2 separate regions of the Homo sapiens genome follow, and region 2 is linked to region 1. Evidence: promoter capture Hi-C in 16 types of primary human blood cells and fetal thymus (Javierre and others, 2016). All regions are on one chromosome and are shown on one strand. Each heading gives the region's core, a stretch centred on a gene start or on the middle of the fragment in contact. The rest is flanking DNA. Distances are from core to core; before and after follow the strand shown.

What was found. Contacts are between HindIII fragments. The CHiCAGO score rates a contact against its expected background, and 5 or more counts as called.
Region 2: a fragment that was not itself captured here is called in contact with the fragment with the promoter of FAM135A in region 1 in 1 of 17 cell types (activated CD4 T cells); the score reaches 5.1 in activated CD4 T cells.

Annotation. Positions count from the first base shown.
Region 1 is chr6:70,411,255-70,417,718 of GRCh38, reverse strand. It overlaps FAM135A (family with sequence similarity 135 member A), which reads right to left and starts at 4,211. Exons shown (of 22, transcript NM_001162529.3): 1 at 4,017-4,211; 2 at 2,343-2,428. It overlaps FAM135A-AS1 (FAM135A antisense RNA 1), which reads left to right and starts at 3,761. Exons shown (of 2, transcript NR_147708.1): 1 at 3,761-3,882; 2 at 4,657-4,891. RefSeq lists silencers at 3,695-3,844, 4,185-4,404. The HindIII fragment of the contact is 2,225 bases long and covers 2,957-5,181 here.
Region 2 is chr6:63,562,698-63,569,161 of GRCh38, reverse strand. LOC124901228 (translation initiation factor IF-2-like) reads left to right here. Exons shown (of 2, transcript XM_047419610.1): 2 at 1-2,927. It also overlaps a transcript of LGSN not described here and a transcript of PTP4A1 not described here. Among named protein-coding and RNA genes, the nearest start is that of PTP4A1, 6.6 kb to the left of the region's middle. The HindIII fragment of the contact is 1,991 bases long and covers 1,460-3,450 here.

The DNA.
Region 1 (6,464 bases), core at 2,962-5,461:
CCCTTGACTTGCTGGCAATCTGAAGACATCAAAGAGCAAGTGTCATAGTTAACACTGCTCTAAAAACAATCATGAATGAAACAGCTGCATCCTATAGGCAACTTCAAGGGTATTTCAATAAAGGAATACTTATTCTAGTTCAGGTTAAATTAAGACCAGTAGCAAAAGAACATTTCATAACACTTAACAGAAATGTCCCAGACTACAGCCAGGCATAGTAGTTCATGCCTGTAATCCCAGCACTTTGGGTGGCTGAGGCGGGAGAATCACTTGAGGCCAGGAGTTTGAGACCTGCTGGCCAATATGGTGAAACCCCATCTCTACTAAAAATACAAAAATTAGCCAGGTGTGGTGGCCTGGGCATGTAATTCCAGCTACTTGGGAGGCTGAGGCACATGAATCGCTTGAATCCGGGAGGTAGAGGCAATACAGTGGGACTCTGTCAAAAAAAAAAAAAAAGTCCCAGTCTATTATCAATATATTTATAACATAATTTAGAAATATGTTCTATATTCTGTATGATCTCATAGAGACCTAATGCCATAAAAGGAAATATGCTATAATTTTCTCAGAATGGTTTCTCGGTTGAGAGATAGTTTATCAAATTTTTTTCATCAAAATAAGAACTACCTGAAGGGTTAGTTACTCAAGTAGGAGATGTCTCTTAATGGTATAATATGCCTGATACTTTTACATTTCTATTAGGAAAAAAGAAGCTAATATTTCTTCTAAATTTAGCACATTATCAATAACCAAGTATGTACCTGTTAACAACTGCCAATCTTTAAAAATAAAATGTGAACCTACTGTGGAGTTGTTTCACCTTATTCCTTCTGAAAAACCTAGACCTGCCTAATCACTTATGCTTTGTAACTTTTCTGAAAAACCACTGAGTCCATTAAGAATGATTTCTTCTATATTACCATTCTGCTTCTTATTCCTCTTTCTTTCTTTTAATTAGGAGAGGGTTTCGCTCTGTTGCCCAGGCTGGTCTTGAACTCCTGGCCTCAAGAGATCCTCCTGCCTCAGCCTCCCCAAGTGCTAGAATTACAGGCATGAGCCACCACACCCCACCTTATTCCTAGTCATCTCTAAACCTTCTTCCTGACAAACAACTCATGAAAAAACACTTCAAATCTATATGCCCTCAGCTCCATCCATTTATTTAAATGCACACATGTACATATAAAAAACTCAATGTTAAAGCACTTTTTCCTCAATACCTAGAATCAAAGCAAAGGAAATCCTTGGCTTTTCTACCCCCTAAACAGCCCTCACAACAAGGATTTAATGTAAACAAAATAAAGATTTTATTTAATGTAAACAAAATAAAAATATAAAACAGAAAATTAAGGATTAACTAAAGATATAGGTGTAACTCTTACATTTCCTTTCAGTGTCAACTCGTGGCAAACAAAAGGAATATCTGTTTTACAAACTGAATGCTGCAGTGTCTGTTTCACTGTGTATGAACATTAACTAATGTGTGAACATTAGTTAATGTACTAATTAGAAAACTCTAGTACATTAGAACTGCTGCTTCTCAAGGAAGCTTGCACTTCTTTCAAAGCCAGGTCATTTTATTTGGTACATCTATCTAGTACATTAGAAAAGTCTAATAGAGTGCTAGTCCACAGTTCACCAGCATTCTACTAGACTTTTCACAGAAGTCTGAAATTTAAAAAAGAAATGTTTGATTTGGGATTTAAGCAGTCAATTATACTCTTACTACACAGTCTAAAATTAAAGAGATAAAAACTAAGTATTTATATAGCAATTTTTGTCTGCGGTGGCCCTAAGCATGTTTAAATGATTAGGGCTTGCTTTGCTATTAATTACTTTACAGCTGGAGATACTGAGATACACAGGTTAAGTGGGTTCTACAAACTAATGTCATGAGTCATCATAAGAGTTCATATATTCTGACTAGAAATTCTAGTCTTCTGCCTGCTGTCCACCACAAATCCCTATTTAATTTATAAGAGCACAGGAACCAACTCACTAAAAATACCAGCAAGAATTTGTAGGCATTTACTTTTTTAAAATGAATGTTTACCTAAAAATAAAAAGACCTGGCTTTTTATTTGAAGGAAGTGCAAGCTTCCTTGAGAAGCAGCAGTTTCTTTATTTGCATTTGAAAAATCATTTTTAAAAAATCTTAAAAGCTGATGAGTGCATCACCTCTTACCATACACAATTGCTAGTTCTTCTCAAAGAAGTGTGGTTTGATGACACCAGAGCCTCCTAGTTTTACTTTAAATCACTTTGAATAAGGAACTACACTTTTTTTTTTGCCTTGGTATTTCCCTTCTTAAAACAGAAACAGAAAACTTAATTCCTACCTGACACAGACAACATAAGGAAGAATTTGTTTGTGGACTGCTTTGAGATTCCAGAACCAAATACATAATCCAGTTGATCTTCAACCCTACAATAAAGACAAACTTCACTAAACATAATTGCTTCAGCAGATGCCTTCAAAATAAGATACTATACCATTATTTATGGAAAGAGAAGTTTTATTTAAGCCAAATCTTGATCACAATGCAATGGAGGAAAAAAATTACAAAACCGTTTAGAAAGTTCTTCTGCTCAATTAAAAAATTTAATACTTCTCACGTATGTCTCCTATAAGCACACTAATTCTAAAGGTAGCAGAAATTGTATGCATTTATTAGAGAACAGAGACTCTCAGGAAAATTATGCAATCAATTGCAATAGCAAATGTATAAAACAAATTAATAATACATTTTAAAAAAGAAATTCTGTTAAATTTCATTTAAGATTAGTTCTTGGACAGCTACACCTAATGGAGGACAAGAAAATTTCCAAATTTTAAGTGTATGTTTGTAGGTCAACCTTTAACAAGTCTTAACCCATTATAGTTTCATTTAGTCTGTACTCAAGTTGCTTTCCCAGGCATGCCAGGTAAACATAATTCTTAAAAATTAAAGCTTTAATCAGTAAGTGTAACCGATTTGTTGCTACTGTCACTCTTTTGATGATACTTCCACCAACCGGTAAAGAAAGAAGAAATGTTATTAAACTGGAAGATGAACTAGAAACATTGAGTGGATACCTAGCTTAGGCAGAAAGCAGCAAGGACTAGAAGGGTATGTCACAAAGAAGTCTTCAGAGATTTAATAAAAAGTAAAACAAATGGAATGAAGTTAAGAGGCTTGACTTATACAAATGGGGGGGGGAGGGTGGAAGAGTTTTGGAGGGGAAAAAATTAAGATTAGAGACTCACTGGGTGCAGAATGGAAAAGGACGTGAGGATAGGGGCCATTAGACAGAAAGCGATGAAGCAGGGTACCAGAGGAAAGAGAAGGCAGTGAGGGTTTCCGAAGCTAAGATGGGGCATGGAATGAACTCCAATGCAAAGCGATGCTAAAGCAAAACACAATCGGCAACTAACAAAAAGGGAACCAGGAGGAAGTACCGAAAGGAGGTGGATGAGAGGAAAATAAAACCAAGGAAGAAATTATGGAGGTAACAAGAGTGAGAAACCTGGTCGGCCAGGGTAAGGAGCTCCGGACAGGGAAGAGCCAGGCAAGGGATGGAAGCACAGAGATACGCTGCTTCCCAAGGAGGGACCACCCGGGCAAAAAGACACGTGGGAGGCGCGGGATGAAAAAGCAGAACCACGAAAGCGGGTAAAGGAGGGACAGAGCGACGAAGATGGAGCAGGGGTGAAGGGCAAACACGCTAGGCGCGAGGTTCAGGAAGAACGGGTCGAGGGACGCGCGCAGGGGCAGGGGCGGCCGCGGGCACCGGGAGAGCAGCGCGCCGCGGCCCCTCGCCTCCCTCAGAGCGCTCCGCACCGCCGTCCCCACCGACCTTCAACGGGGCCGGGGCCAGGCTCCGACCGCCAGCAGTCGGGTGAGGGGCCGCGGCGGGCGAACGGCGGACGAAGAGGAGGCCGCTTCCTTCCTGGCCCCTGGGCAAGAGGGACGGAGGGAGGGGTCGTGGGTGTCGGGAGCCGGGGGAGCCAGAGGGGACAGTAAGGGGGTTACCTCTCGCCCGGCTCGGCCTCTTCCCCCGCCTGTCGAACGGAGGAGCTCGTTGTCCAGCTGCAAGAAGACGGCCCGACCCGGGTCAGCACCATCCCGCCCCGGGCCCCCTCACATCGCCATCACAGCAACCGCAAACACCGCAACCGCGGAGCCGGTTCGTCACCGCGGCTCGGCTACTGGCCCAGCGCGGCCAGCGAGCATGCGCAGTCGCCCCAGTCCCGAGGGAGCCCGGGCCAGCCGGCTATACCTGCGATCAACAGGTCCCCGGCCGCACGGCCCCGCCCCCGGCCTCTCTCACCTCCTCCTCCCGCCTCTTCCCTCCCCTCTCTGAGGCTAGGCCCCGCCCCTTCAAGCTCCGTGCCCCGCCCTTCAGGAGCTTCAACTGCCCCTCCAGCTCCAGCGCCAACTGAGATTTCGAGAGATTTGTCCTCCCTACCAGGCTCCCGTTCCCAAGTTCCCGCGAGAACGGGAGGTTTGCGTCAATAAAAGGCGCGCGTCAAGAAAAGGGGCTCGCTTGTGGGTTTAAGGGATGGAACTTGGAGGTGGTTGAAGAGTAGTGAACAAGAAGAGGGCAAAAACACGGAGTTCGAGAACTTTAGCCGTTTTTCTCACAATGTTGTTTCTCCTTTTCTCTCTTTAGCTCCTCCGTGCAGTCCCGGGTAGAGAGCCCGGTCCCTGCGCTAGTCGATTTGTGCAGTAGGAAAGGAGGCTGCAGGGGATCTGCGCCGGGGCAGGACAGATGCCTTTCGGGACCCAGTGTTTGCATCTTGGGAGATGTGGGTGCTGATCTGGTTGTTTCTTGGTTTATGACGCCAAAAAGGGCGGGAGGGGGCTGATGAAGTGAAGCCTTTCGCTAATACATTCCGTTAACAGAAGCCCACGAAGGATCATTGATTTATTTCACTCTTCCCTGTTTCTGAACCTTATCTGGCAAAAACTTTTGTGGTGCATAAAGTTCAGTATGTTGCTAAAGCTGAGTTAATGAAAGGAAAATTTCAGCTGCGACTCTTGTTTTAAAAATGAATCTAGGATGGATAGTGGTGTTGGTTGCACAACAATGAATGGACATAATGCTACTGAACTGTGCACTTAAAAATGGTTAAAATGGTAAATTTTCTGTTATGTATATTTTACCACAATAAGAATGAATTAGAAGGGAAAAGCTTTGTGCATTCATTTGAAAGTAATGGTGAGGTCTTGTAACGTAGGCCATTTAGGGGACAGGTTTTGAATATATCTTTGTACCAGTTTTTTTTTTTTTCGAGTGTGTGTGTGAGACAGAGCATTGCTCCGTCGCCCAGGCGGGAGTGCAGTAATGTGATCTCGGCTCACTGCAACCTCTGCCTCCGGAGTTCAAGCAATTCTCCTGTCTCAGCCTCCCTAGTAGCTGGGACTACAGGCGCACACCACCACGCCTGACTACTTTTTGTATTGTTAGTAGAGACGTGGTCTCACCATATTGGTCAGGCTGGTTTCGAACTCCTGACCTTAGGTGATCCACCCGCCTTGGCCTTCCAAAGTGCTGGGATTACAGGCCTAAGACACCGTGCCTGGCTTGTACCAGTTTTTACATGATTGGGTGTCCTCTTATCCTGTGAACCAATTTATTTGCATTTGTATGAATGGCCTGCTTTCCTGATTTCTAATTTGTCCCTTCTTTTATAGCCCTATACCATTTTACTATCCTTGCTAAACAGGCTTTTATTGCTTGTTTTGTGACTTGAACTTTAGCCTCAAAATTGGAAAGGCTTTTTCTGTTTTTTTTTTAGTTCCAGCCATGTCTTAGGAAAATATAGTAAACAACCAATTATTTGCATTTCCACGTCCGTGCATCCCTAAAACACACAGTGTGCCAAGATTCTTTCCCTGTTCCACGTTCTTTTTATTCAAATCACATTGTTAACTCATCTGCTGTGTGCCAGGCAGTGTGCTAATCTTGGAAGATACCAACATGAATGAAAAAGAACTTGGGTGGAGTGTTTGCATTATTACCCTATGATGTAATGTGTATAGTGCAGAGATAAATGCACAGAGAGCTATTGAAGCTCAGAAGAAGCATTAATCCAACTTTGGGAAGAGGTCATGGGTCAGGAAAAACTTCCAGGAGAAAATGATTCCAGAGAGTTGAAGTGGGATGTCTTGTGGTGGCGGTTGGGAGGAGTAAAGGGAAAAGGATTGCTTGAACAGAAGCTGTACAGTAAGAAACTGGTCTTTGTGCTGAACTAAAACTAAGACTTCTATGCCACTGTTTAGGGATGTGAGGCTGGAGAAGTTGACAAGGATCATGGTGAGCCTTCAAAAAAAGTCAAATCAGTTCAACCATTATATATATATATATAGCTTATTAGATATTTGCCAAATACTGTGCTAGTTACTGAGGGATATAATGAAAGTTAAGGGTCAGTCTAAAATCTCAGAGTTTGCAATCTAGCAGGGGTAGACAGGCAT
Region 2 (6,464 bases), core at 1,206-3,705, 6.8 Mb after region 1:
AGAACAGCAGATCTAGTAAACATTGATTCCATTTTACCAAGTTTACAAAAGGAGTGAAGGATTCCTTGATTTTCAATCTTCTCAGATTGGTTGGGGCTACAAGGAAGTCTGATAAAAACATTTAACATAGCAAGAGTAATATCATTGCCATAATAGATTAAACGTGACAATATCAACCTAGAAAAAGACACTAGATTGCAAGGTATAATGACAGTCTAGCAAATATATGTAATAGAGGCAAATACCCCAATGGGCCATAATCTAGTAAGTGTCTGGATACTAGTGCAGAGGGTAAGTTCCCATACCCATATTTAACAAGAGTCCTAAAAATTCAAGTATGCCATGGCTGCTGTCAGCATTGTTAAAGTTTATTTCCCTCTTGCTGTTTTAGAACAGCCTATTTTATATCCAATTAATTTTCTTATATGATTATTAAAAATAAATATGTAGTATACAGGCATACCTTCATTTATTGTGCTTTGCAAATATTGTTTTTTTTTTTTAACAAAATGATGGTTTGTGACAGCTTTTTGTCGAGCAAGTCTATCAGAGCCATTTTTCCAATAGCATGTGCTCATTTCATGTCTCTGTGTTACATCTTGGTAATTCTCCCAATATTTCAAACTTTTAAATTATTATTGCATTTGTTATGGCAATTTGTGAACAGTGATCTTTGATATTGTTATTGGAATTGTTTTGGGCCACCACAAACTGTACCCATTTAAGATGGCAAACTTATTTGATAAATGTTGAATATATTCTGACTGCTCCGCTGATGGGCCAGTCCCTCAGTGAGACACAGCAATACTGAAATTAGGCCAATTAATAACCCTACAGTGGCCTCTGAGTGTTCAAGTGAAAGGAAGAGTCATTCATCTCTCACTTTAAATCAAAGCTAAAAATGATTAAGCTGAGTAAGGCAAGTTGAAAGCAGAGATAGGCCGAAAACTAGGCCTCATACCCAAAACAGTCAAGTTGTGAATGCCAAGGAAAAGCTCTTGAAGGAAGTTAAAAGTGCCACTCCAGTGAACACAGGAATGATAAGAAAGTGAAACAGCCTCATTGTTGATAAGGAGAAAGTTTTAGAGTTCTGGATAGAAAACCAGCCACAGCATTCTCTTAAGTCAAAGCCTAATTCAGAGCAAGGCCTTAACTCTCTTCATTTTTATGAAGGCTGAGAGAGGTGAGGAAGTTGTAGAAGAAAAGTCTGAAGATAGCAGAGGTGGATTCATGAGGTTTAAGAGTAGAAGCCCTCTCCCTAACATAAAAATGAAAGGTGAAGCAGTAAGTGCTGATGGAGAAGCTGCAGCAAGTTATTGAGAAGATTTAGCCAAGAACATTGATGAAGGTGGCTACACTAAATAACAGATTTTCAATGTAGACAAAACAGTCTTATACTGGAAGAAGATGCTGTCCAAGACTTTCATAGCTATAGAAGTCAATGCTTGGCTTCAAAGCTTCGAAGGACAGGCAGTTCTCTTGTTAGGGGCTGATGTGGCTGGTGACTTTAAGTTGAAGCAGATGTTCATTTACCATTCTGAAAATCCTAGGACCCTTAAAAATTATGCTAAATCTACTCTGCTGTGCTCTATAAGTGGAAGAACAAAACCTGGTTGACAGCACATCTGTTTAGCATGGCTCACTAAATATTTTAAGTCCACTGTTGAGACCTACTGATAAAACGTGATTTATTTAAAAATACTATTGCTCCTTGACAATGCACATGGTCACTGAAATGCTCTGATGGAGATGTACAAGGAGAGTAATATTGTTTTCATGCCTTCTAACACAGCATCCATTCTGCAACCCATGGATCAAGGAATAATTTTGACTTTCAGGTTTTAATATTTAACAAGTACATTTCATAAGGTTATAAATTGCTGTAGATGGTGATTCCTCTGATGGATCTAAGCAAAGTAAACCAAAAACATTCTGGAAAGGATTCTAGATGCCATTAAGAACATTCATGAGAGGAGGTAAAAGTATCAGCATGAACAGGAGTTTGAAAGAAGTTAACTCCAACTCTCATGGATGACCTTGAGGGCGTTCAAGACTTCAGTGGAGGAAATCACTACAAATATGGTGAAAATAGCAAGACAATTGGAGTTAGAAACAGAGTCTGAAGAGTTGACTAAATCGCTGCAATTTTATGATCAAACTTGAATGAATGAGGAGTTGCTTCTTATGAAGGAGAAAAGAGAGTGGTTTCTTGAGATAGAATCTACTGCTGGTGAAGATGCCGTAAGCATTGTTGAAATGATAAAGGATTTAGAATATCACATAAACTTAGCTGATAAAGCAGTGGGTGAGTTTTAAGAGGACTGATTGCAACTTTGAAAGGAGTTCTCTTGTGTGTAAAATACTATCAAACAGCACTGCCTGCTACAGAGAAATTTTTTGTGGAGTCATCAATGCAGCAAACTCCATTGTCTTATTTCAAGAAATTGCCACAGCCACCTTAACCTTCAGCAACTACCTCCCTGATCAGTCAGCTGCCATCATCACTGAGGCAGGATTCTCCAACAGCAAAGATTATGACTTGCTGAAGGCTCAGATGACTGTTAGCATTTTTTAGCAAAAGTATTTTTAAATTAAGGTATTCTAGGGTACCCGTTTTCCCCACTTCCTTTCTGTGTCTTGACCAAAATCACAGTGACCCAGCCAGCTGTAGCCATAGGTTTTCCTCAGCTGGCTTGAACCCAAACCAGCTTGAACATTCCCAGGCACTGATAATAATGTCTTGGTTTACTGGAAAGAAACTGACCCCGACCCTGAGCCGAATTCCTTAAATTTTCATGTAAACTCCATCCCCTCACCCCCTGGCTACAGACTAATGTGGGTAAAACATCCCTTTTCTCTTGCTGTCCATCACAATAATACATTGCAACACCCTGCAAGTTCCTTTAATAAATGTTTTGGACTGATCACTCTGGCATTTAGAGCTGCTTTCTTTGAAATCTCAAACCAGCCCTGTCTTCAAATGGTTTGGGGTACTCTGTTGTACGAATTCTCCTGCTGCTGCTTTTAAGGCAACTCCAGCTATGGGTTCAGTGGGACAAAACAGGTATGTACATTTTTTAGACATAGTGCTATGCACATTTAACAGACAACAATGTAGTGTAAATGGGAAACCAAAAAATGCATGTGGCTTCCTTTATTGTAATACCTGTTTTATTGTGGTGGTCTGGAGCTGAACTTGCAATATCTCCAAGGTATGCCTATGCTTAAATCTCTATGAACATATAATTTGCAGTGCTTAAATATTGTTCAAAACTAAAACATGCTCTATATTAAAAAGTGACTTAATTTTCTTCCTTAAGACATTGATTTAAAGATTTATCAAAAGTCTTTTGAGTAAGTTTTGATGAATAATCAAAATGCTGTAGCAGAGCTACATCCTAATTTCTGTGGGAAATTTAGACACAGAAATTTCCAATGAGCAAATAAGCTTGTCACAACAAGCCTTTTAAGGAATCTGGCCTAAGGACAAAGTCCAAAGGCCAATAGCTGCCTGTGGGCTACTGTGTTTTGTTGAGTCAGACATATAGAAACAGTCACCCACCTAGGAGGGTACTACAGATGTAAATATTTATATTAATAAATGAATCCTGCTGGATCAGAAGTAACATCTTATCAAGTCATCATATCAAACCATTTGAGGTAATATTTTCTCTGTAAAATTGATTAAGGCAGTTTTGAACAACTTTTTTTTTTAAAGTCTATTTTAAGAAACAATTCTCTTGAATCGATCTCTATTATGCCCATTCTCTGTCCCTTTTTCATGTCTAATTGTAATCAATTTAAATATAAACCTGAAAGTTGTCTAGGTAGTCTCCAAATCAAATGAGAATGTGTATTCACATTAGTAACTCTGCCGCTTAATATAGTATTTACTTCTGTAGGAGCTTAGTGTGTGTATTAAGATGTGACAGATACCGCCTGGGCAACACAGTCAGACCCTGTCTCTACAAAAAAAAAAAAATTATCTGGGCATGATGGTGCATTCCTGTAGTTGTAGCTCCCTCGGAGGTTGAGGTGGGAGGATTGCTTGAGCCCAGGAGTTGTTAGGGCTGCAGTGAGCTGTGATCATGCCACTGCACTCCATCTGGGGCAACAGACCAAAGACCCTCTCTCTCAAGGAAAAACAAAAAAGAAATGATGGACAGATTGATTAGTAAGAGAATACTTTTCATTTGCATGCTGAAAGGCACCATTTCCTTGGGGCACTGAATAAAGGACTTATTATGAATCTATCCATAACTCATGACTGTTTTGCCTACTGGTACCTGGAGGAATCTAGTTTGAGAAGACTCTTCTTATTTTAGCAAATTTGGTGAAATTTCTGTTGCTGTTCTATAGCCTGAATAAAAATCATTTGGGAATTGAAAATCAGGAAGGCCACAGTCTCCATGTGATTGTTTAGAACATGTTGAATTATGCCACAGTCTGAACTGAGGCAAAAATAGCTTAGGAAAGGAGAATTTAATCTGGCTAGAGAAAGGGAATGGAGTATAAATAAATTTTAAAGGTTGGATATGCATGCTATGGCAAAGCTGTCACTTGACAGGTTTAATTTACAGAGTTGGCATTTAGGCTGCAGATAATCCAGACAGACAGTGACCTAAGCAGCATTACTGGGGCAGGCCTTACATAAGGAGAAATGTTGTTGAACAATTTCCTGCAAGCATAATAACATTTATTTAACAAAAGCTACAACAGTCATGCTTTTTTCTTATCCTAACACAGTTGCTTTTTAACTAGGGATGTTCAACAAACGTTGCTATCTTCGTGTATTTCTATAGTTCCATTCATGGCTGGAAGATACTGAACATAAGAGAAAATGAGTATAGAAGCCTTTTGAAATTTCTCTCTTTTTTTTTTTTTTTGAGACAGAGTCTCGCTCTGTCACCCAGGCTGGAGTGCAATGGTGCAATCTTGGTTAACTGCAACCTCCGTCTCCCGGGTTCAAGTGATTCTCCTGCCTCAGCCTCCCAAGCAGCTAGGATTACCAGGCACCTGCCACCACACCCGGCTAATTTTTGTATTTTTAGTAGAGATGGGGTTTCTGCATGTTGGCCAGGCTGGTCTCGAACTCCTGACCTCAAATGATCCGCCTGCCTTGGCCTCCCAAAGTGCTGGGATTACAGGCGTGAGCCACCATTAAATATAGTTGTCCTATAATGTATTTCTTTAATCCTCAGACATATTAATGCACATAGTAAATACTCAACCACTATTTATTTGCATACTATCATATTACTTTCCCACATAAAATTCTATTAGGGCATCCTATTCCCAGTTTTTCTAAGTTTTCTTTGCAGGGTTCTTAGTCTCTCAATCCCGTTAACAATGGTGTTCACTGGAGTTTTGTCCTAGGGCCTCCTGGACTCACTTTCCACTTTCCTTGGGGTTTTCACCTACATCCATAGCTGTGGCTGTCAACCTTCCCTCCTTCCCCAACACATATGTGTTAAATGCCTAGCATATGCCAGGCACTCTGCTATCTTATGAATAACATAAACATGTTTTCTGCCCCAATGAAATTTATATACAGGTGAGAAAAGAGAGAAAATAACAAGTAAATAAGCATAGAATATATTTATAATCTGTGCTGTGAAGGAGGTCAACAGAATGGCTGGGGTGACTTACTTTAGACAGTGAAGTCAGGGGTGGTGTCTCCCAGGAGATCCAGATCTAAATGATGAGAATGAATCACAAAAAGAGGGGGAGGAAGAGAGATATTTTTGGTGGAGGAAATGACAACACAGAATTTCAGGTGGGAGTTTGGTTGGTACTCAAGGAGTTGGAAGACCTGAGGGACTGCAGCAATACAAGGGAAGGAAATAAGCCTGGACATCTAGCAGGGACTGGATCACGTAGGACCTTGTAGGCCATGGAAAGGATTTGGATTTATTTTGCTGACAGTGAATCACACCACATATCAGGAAATTTGTTTTAAGAGAATTGTTTTTCTGTTCTGTGGAGAATGGATTGGAGAAGGCCCTAGAGTAGAATTATTTTAACAGGGTGAAACACTTGAGATTTCCTGCCTTGTCAAATGGAAGACAATGTTGGTGTTGACTATGATCAGGACAGTGGAGGCAGAGAAAAGTGGAGAGATTAGAAATATGGAAATAAAATGGAGAAGTTTTACATCACAAAATGCCACACTGCCTCTAAAAATTGTCAAAGGCCAAACAGAGATATAAGGCCATGGTTTTGAGCCTGTTTTATGCTATGGTGCTGAATGTATAGGCACACTGATGAAAAGTTCCATAATTTCACATTTTCATTAGCAATATGTTTGTAGGGAATAAACCAGAAACTTAAAATAAATAAAGGCACTCAAAGTATGCTTAGAGAAAGACACTATTTCTGAGGGTTTTGAGAATATAGCAGCGGGACTCCTAAAAGTTGTATATTTAGGTATTAAGAGAACAATTAAACTCTTGATAGATTACAAT